Linked DNA regions of Homo sapiens: region 2 is linked to region 1. The links are contacts of gene promoters, found by promoter capture Hi-C in human tissues and cell types (Jung and others, 2019). All regions are on one chromosome and are shown on one strand. The core of a region is centred on a gene start or on the middle of the fragment in contact, and the rest is flanking DNA. Distances in the headings are between cores, read along the strand shown.

Region 1 (3,103 bases), core at 1-2,500:
GATGCCCTAAAGAGGACTGAGTGGGTCTGAGGTGAATGAGTGAGGAAGAGCAGAGTATGTGGATACCCGGAAACACACACACACACACATCATCATTATCATCATCATCATTGTCGTCGTCATCATCTTGCTGAGTCATCATCATCATCATCATCATTGTCGTCGTCATCATCTTGCTGAGTGTCTCTTGAAGTACAGGCTGTGACAGGTTGTGGGCCATTTTCCTGAACTCACCACTTACCCGGGATAGTAAACATGATACACATCAATAAAGGCAGACTTTATTGTGAATCACAGCGCCTGGTGTATCCTGAACTTTGAGGAGTTATGGGAGGGACACGTTGGGGGAATGGGAAGGGCACCATTCAGGCCAATTATGGGGAAACCCCTGGAGGAGGGTGAATGCCGAAGGAGGAATTGGGGGAGTCCAGGGGCTCCAAGTTACCACTGTGACATTTTGAGAGAACCCGGGGCTTTTGCAGATTCTACAAAATGTGGGCCAAGTTCATCCTGTCCAAGTGTGCAGCAGGGCCCTTGGCCCCCATCACTATCCTGGGGACAGAAGTTGGCTGCTGAGTGAGTGATAGAGGCCGTGCGAGAGGCACATCGTGGAAGCCAACCAGCACCCACATCCTTGCCCACCCTGGACCCCTTTCCAGCCTTTTCCTGAGCCCCTGCTTCCTCAGTCCTCCCCTCTCTCCAGCACCTGCAGCCTGGCTGCCTTTCCGTCTCTGGCTGCGCTCTTTCTCCAGCCTCGGTCTGGCCGCACTTCTGCCTCCTGGAACTCTCTCCATGGGTAGCCTCTTCTAGTCCACCCGTCTTCAGCCCCTCATCTCATTCGTCAGCACTCCACTCCCCTGCTGGGCTCCAGACATGGACTTCTGTCCCTCAAGGCACAGCTGGACTCATCCCTTTCCCCAAACCTGCCCTTCCTCCGGCTTCATTTCCATCAATACCTCCATCATCAACCCTTCCGCGAGACACTCCTGGCCCCTCCTCTCCCTCATGCCTCACAACCGACCAGCCGGAGGTCTAGGTCGATGACAGCTCCTAAAAAGCTCCTGAATGAATAATGAATGAATGAACGCGAGCAGGCTAGGCGTGGGGCCAGGCGGGGTCGCGCCCAGACCGCTCGCGACCATAGAGTCCGCCGGAGGCCGGAGGTAGAGGGGCTGGATGCGTGGCGGGGAGCGCCGGGCTCTCCCGGAAGTCTCCCTGGACGGAAGTGGAAACGGAAACCTTTTTAGGGAGTCCAAGGTACAGTCGCCGCGTGCGGAGCTTGTTACTGGTTACTTGGTAAGCTGGTGTGAGGGGAACCTGGGAGGGTCAGCTCCGGTCCTGGGTCGGGAGGGGTGGGGGCCAGAGGATTCAGGGCCGGAGGTTCTGGTGGGGGCCCAGTGGGCGGGACCCGAGGACGGAGGGGCCGGGAGGCCGAGAGGGGCGGGGTCGCGGCGGGGCCTGAGGGACGGAGGCCGGGATACTTGGGAAAGGATCCGCCGGCCTTGAACTCCCGCCTCCGCCGCCCCTAGGCCTCATGGCGGTCCGAGCTTCGTTCGAGAACAACTGTGAGATCGGCTGCTTTGCCAAGCTCACCAACACCTACTGTCTGGTAGCGATCGGAGGCTCAGAGAACTTCTACAGGTGCGGCGGGAGCCCCGGGGCTTACGGTGGCGGGGAGGCGTGCGCAGGAGTCAAGAGCTCCGGCAGTGGGAGGGTGCCGGCCCCTCTGCCCCGCCACCACCGAGTCCATGTCCCTACAGTGTGTTCGAGGGCGAGCTCTCCGATACCATCCCCGTGGTGCACGCGTCTATCGCCGGCTGCCGCATCATCGGGCGCATGTGTGTGGGTAAGGCAGGTGGAGGACGCCGAGGGAGGGAGTGGTCTCCAAGCACCATTAATTACACCCCCGGAGGGAACCCGGAGTGACCTAGGGATTCCCAGGGTATCATCTGTTATCTCTGGGCACTATAGAATCTCTCAGGCCAAGCGTCAGGAGATCGGGGCAACCCTCTAGCAAAGGCTGCTGGATAATAGTAATAACAAATAATGTAAAGTGCTTTCACTCCTGTTCTCATTCCTTCGTCACAAAGACACTAGAAGGTAGGAGTTACTGGCCTAACTTGACTGATGAGGAAGTTGAGACTTGACCTAAGTGACTCAGTAAGTTCCACACCTAGTTCCTAGTGTTGGAGAAGGATTTTTCTCTTTTTTTTTTTTTTTTGAGGCCAGATTTTTGCTCTTTCGCCCAGGCTGGAGTGCAGTGGCAAGATCACAGCTGTCTGCATCCTCAACTTCTTAGGCTCAAGTGATCCTCCCACCTCAGCCTACCAGGTAGCTAGGGCCACAGGCACGTGCCACCACACCTGGCTAATTTTTACATTTTTGGTAGAGACGCGGCCTCCCTGTGTTGCCCAGCCTGGCCTTGATCTCCTGGGCTCAAGTGATCTTCTTACCTTGGTCTCTTAAAGTGTTGGGATTATAGGCGAGAGCCACTATACCCAGCCGAGGATTTGTATCTCATCTCTCCCTGCCACTGACTGGGCAAGGTGCTTTCTCTTTCTAAGCATCCATTTCTGTCTCTGTAAAGATTAGCTAAGATATGCGGTCTTCCTGCTCAGTTACGTTGGAATCTTAAATTCCCTTTACCACATCTCTACCCTACCTTCCTACCTGTCAGCACTGTTAATTCTGGTCGTTGGTCCTTTCCTTTTTATTATTATTATTATTTTTTTTTGAGATGGAGTTTTCGCTCTTGTTGCCCAGGCTGGAGTGCAATGGCACGATCTTGGCTCACTGCAACACTCTCTTCAAGTGATTCTCCTGCCTCAGCCTCCCAAGTAGCTGGGATTACAGGCGCATCCCGCCACACCCGGCTAATTTTTTTGTATTTTTAGTAGAGATGGAGTTTCACCATGTTGGCCAGGCTGGTCTTGAACTCCTGACCTCAGGTGATCCTCCCACCTCGGCCTCCCAAAGTGCTGGGATTACAGGCGTGAGCCACTGCGCCCGGCCGGTCCTTTCATTAAGCTGGATCTGTCTTCCATTACTGCTGCCCATTGTTTCTTAGTTCTGCTCATTGAGGTCACTTTTAGAAGTCTGTTTA
Region 2 (2,943 bases), core at 263-2,762, 570 kb after region 1:
GACTGGATCATTAGCCTCTACATCACTTACCTAGAATTTCTTACCTTAAAGTAATTTGTGGCCAGGCTCAGTGGCTCACTTCTGTAATCCTAACGTTCTGGGAGGCTGAGGCGGGCAGATCAGTTGAGGTGAGGAATTTGAGATCAGCCTGGCCAACATGGCCAAACCCCATCTCTACTAAAAATACAACCATTAGCTGGGCGTGGTGGTGCATGCCTGTAATCCCAGCTACTAGGGAGGCTGAGGCAGGAGAATTGCTTGAACCCAGGGGGTGGAGGTTGCAGTGAGTTCAGATCGCACCACTGCACTCCAGCCTGGGCGACAATCCGAGACTGTCTCAAAAAAAAAAGTAATTTGCAAGACTCCATCTCAAAAAAAAAAAAAGGTGATTTGCCTATTCATTAGAGTAGTAAAAGTGGTAACATTTTGGAGGGAGTAGAAAATCAACTACCAAAACAAAAAAACTCATCAAAAGATGTTTTTTTCAGACAGATTTTTTTCAGACATGATGGGGAACAGTGGCAAAGGACCTCACTGTTGGAGGTGAAAATCCCAAGTTTGGTTTTAGACATGTTGAGTCTGAGGTTTGCTCTATGTCTCAGATTGACTGGATTTATCCAGGGAAGGTGATAGAGACTTCAAACTCAGTTTAAAATTTATTTTTTTCCTCATGGAAGTATGAAAGTTTACATCCTTCTCCCCACCAACCACAGTATCCAAAAGATGAGGGTTTTTAATGGTGTGTTTGTGGGTTTTTTTGCAGTTTCTAGCACAAGTCATTTGTTTATTCCTGACCCCACTCATTGATTCACGCTCAGAGGCAACCTACCAGTTCATTGGGTGCTTCGGAGCAGTGACAAATGGGAACAAGCAAGGAAGGAGGGGGAGCCTGAGGTTGCTTCTCCCCCACACCCCACTACCCACTTCTTTTCCCAGCCACATATGTTTCTCAGACATACCACTTGATCCTTCATATCACAACAAGGGAAAAGCTTCCAAAGTTGACCTAGTTAATGAATGTTTTGCTGAGGATGAACACTGTCAAGACAAAAACCCTGCCTATTTTTACTGCAAATGACAAATTTGCTGCAGTGAAAATAACGCTTGAGATTTGGACCTGAAGAGTTGATTTTAGGGAGTTATGTGGGCTGTGTGAGACTCTTTAATTTACATGAATTAAAATAAAGAACACCATTATTAACATCCTGGCAGATTAACTGTCTTCTGATTAGTAAAAGACTAATGAGTAAATCAGAAAGACTGATTCTACCACATGGCACAAAAAAAAACATGACCTTTGAGAAGACAAACATACTGAAATTTCCACCAACAGAGGCTTGAATGAAATTACTGTACTGGGCACCTCTTGGAAATTCATCTAGACCGCACTTCTTTTTATTTTTTTATTTTTTTTGAGACGGAGTCTCAATCTTGTTGCCCAAGCTGGAGTGCAATGGCGCAATCTCGGCTCACCACAACCTCCACCTCCCAGGCTCAAGCAATTCTCCTGCCTTAGCCTCCCGAGTAACTGGGATTACAGGCATGCACCACCACACCTGGCTAATTTTCTTTATTTAGTAGAGATGGGGTTTCTCCACGTTGGTCAGGCTGCTCTTGAACTCTTGACCTCAGGTGATCCACCCGCCTCAGACTCCCAAAGTGCTGGGATTACAAGCATGAGCCACCACGCCTGGCCTAGGCCTCACTTCTTAGCAGTCACCTTAGCTAACAGAGTAGTGAAATTTTTCCTTACAATCTACATATTTATTAGAGTCTGGGTTCACAAAATATTATGATACAAAAGACAAAGGAAAATTTGCCTTGAATACAACCTAACATGCAGTATCAGAAAATTCAGCCTAGTTACCAGAAATGGGTAAATCTGATTCATCTTTTGTATTGATATATTAGAAGCATTTTTTTTCTCCTTGATGAGAAGTAATTTTAGAACATTATTTTCATATTAAAACCAGAATATGAAATAAAGGTGACCTTTTGAAGTCAATATGAGATTCTAAAGAAGTGTTTACCTTTGGAGAGCTTCAGGCTATTCACTGTACTCTGCCATAACTTTGTGTAGAATTTTTTTTTTTTTTTTAAATAGAGATGGGGTCTCTGTCACCCAGGCTGGAGTACAGTGGCATGAACATAGCTCACTTCAGCCTTGAACTCCTTCAGCCATGAACTCCTGGGCTCAAGTGATCCTCCCACTTGGTCTCCTGAGTAGCTGGGACTACAGGCATGTGCCACCACACCCAGCTAATTCTTTTCTTTTTGTAGAGATGGGTTCTCACCATCTTGCCCAGGCTGGCCTCAAAACTTCTGGGCTCAAGTGAGCTTCCTGCGTCAGTCTTCCAAAGTGTTGGGATTACAGGGGTGAGCCATCACACCTGGCCAAAACGTTTTTAAGAAACACAGTTTAAGTCTGGCATAAGATTAAGTTAAAACACTGATAGTACAAGAGAAACTAAAGGAATCAAAACATAGTCATTTCCCTGTATGTCACTGTCATTCTGTGTGTAAATCACTCAGTTCCCACCTCCTCCATGAAGCCTTCAGGCTCACTTGGGCTCAGAGCAGGCCGTTGCTTATTCTGAATTGCATTCATGACTGTATGTATCCACAGTCTTTTTTTTTTTTTTTTTTTTTGAGACGGAGTCTCGCTGTCTCCAGGCTACAGTACAGTGGTGGGATATCGGCTTACTGGAACCTTCACCTCCGTAGTTCAAGCAATTCCCCTGCCTCAGCCTCCTGAGTAGCTGGGATTAAGGCACACGCCACCACGCCCGGCTAGTTTTTCGTGTATTTTTAGTAGAGATGGGGTTTCGCCATGTTGGCCAAACTAGTCTCAAACTCCTCACCTCAGGCAATCCGCCCACCTCGGCCTCCCAAAATGCTGGGATTACAGGCGTGAGCCACCACGCCCAGCCTTCCACAATCTTG

The links. Contacts are between HindIII fragments. The study calls those that stand out against the background at their distance.
Region 2: a fragment that was not itself captured here is called in contact with the fragment with the promoter of EIF6 in region 1 in 1 of the 25 tissues and cell types used here (dorsolateral prefrontal cortex).

Annotation. Positions count from the first base shown.
Region 1 is chr20:35,282,919-35,286,021 of GRCh38, reverse strand. EIF6 (eukaryotic translation initiation factor 6) reads left to right here and starts at 1,250. Exons shown (of 7, transcript NM_002212.4): 1 at 1,250-1,296; 2 at 1,530-1,641; 3 at 1,761-1,846. The coding sequence starts at 1,535. FAM83C (family with sequence similarity 83 member C) reads left to right here. Exons shown (of 4, transcript NM_178468.6): 4 at 1-291. It overlaps FAM83C-AS1 (FAM83C antisense RNA 1), which reads right to left and starts at 771. Exons shown (of 2, transcript NR_109815.1): 1 at 707-771; 2 at 250-552. RefSeq lists an enhancer at 688-1,238 and a silencer at 1,331-1,520. The HindIII fragment of the contact is 18,620 bases long and covers 1-3,103 here.
Region 2 is chr20:34,715,922-34,718,864 of GRCh38, reverse strand. The region is part of intron 14 of NCOA6 (nuclear receptor coactivator 6); the gene reads left to right. Among named protein-coding and RNA genes, the nearest start is that of TP53INP2, 13 kb to the right of the region's middle. The HindIII fragment of the contact is 3,259 bases long and covers 1-2,943 here.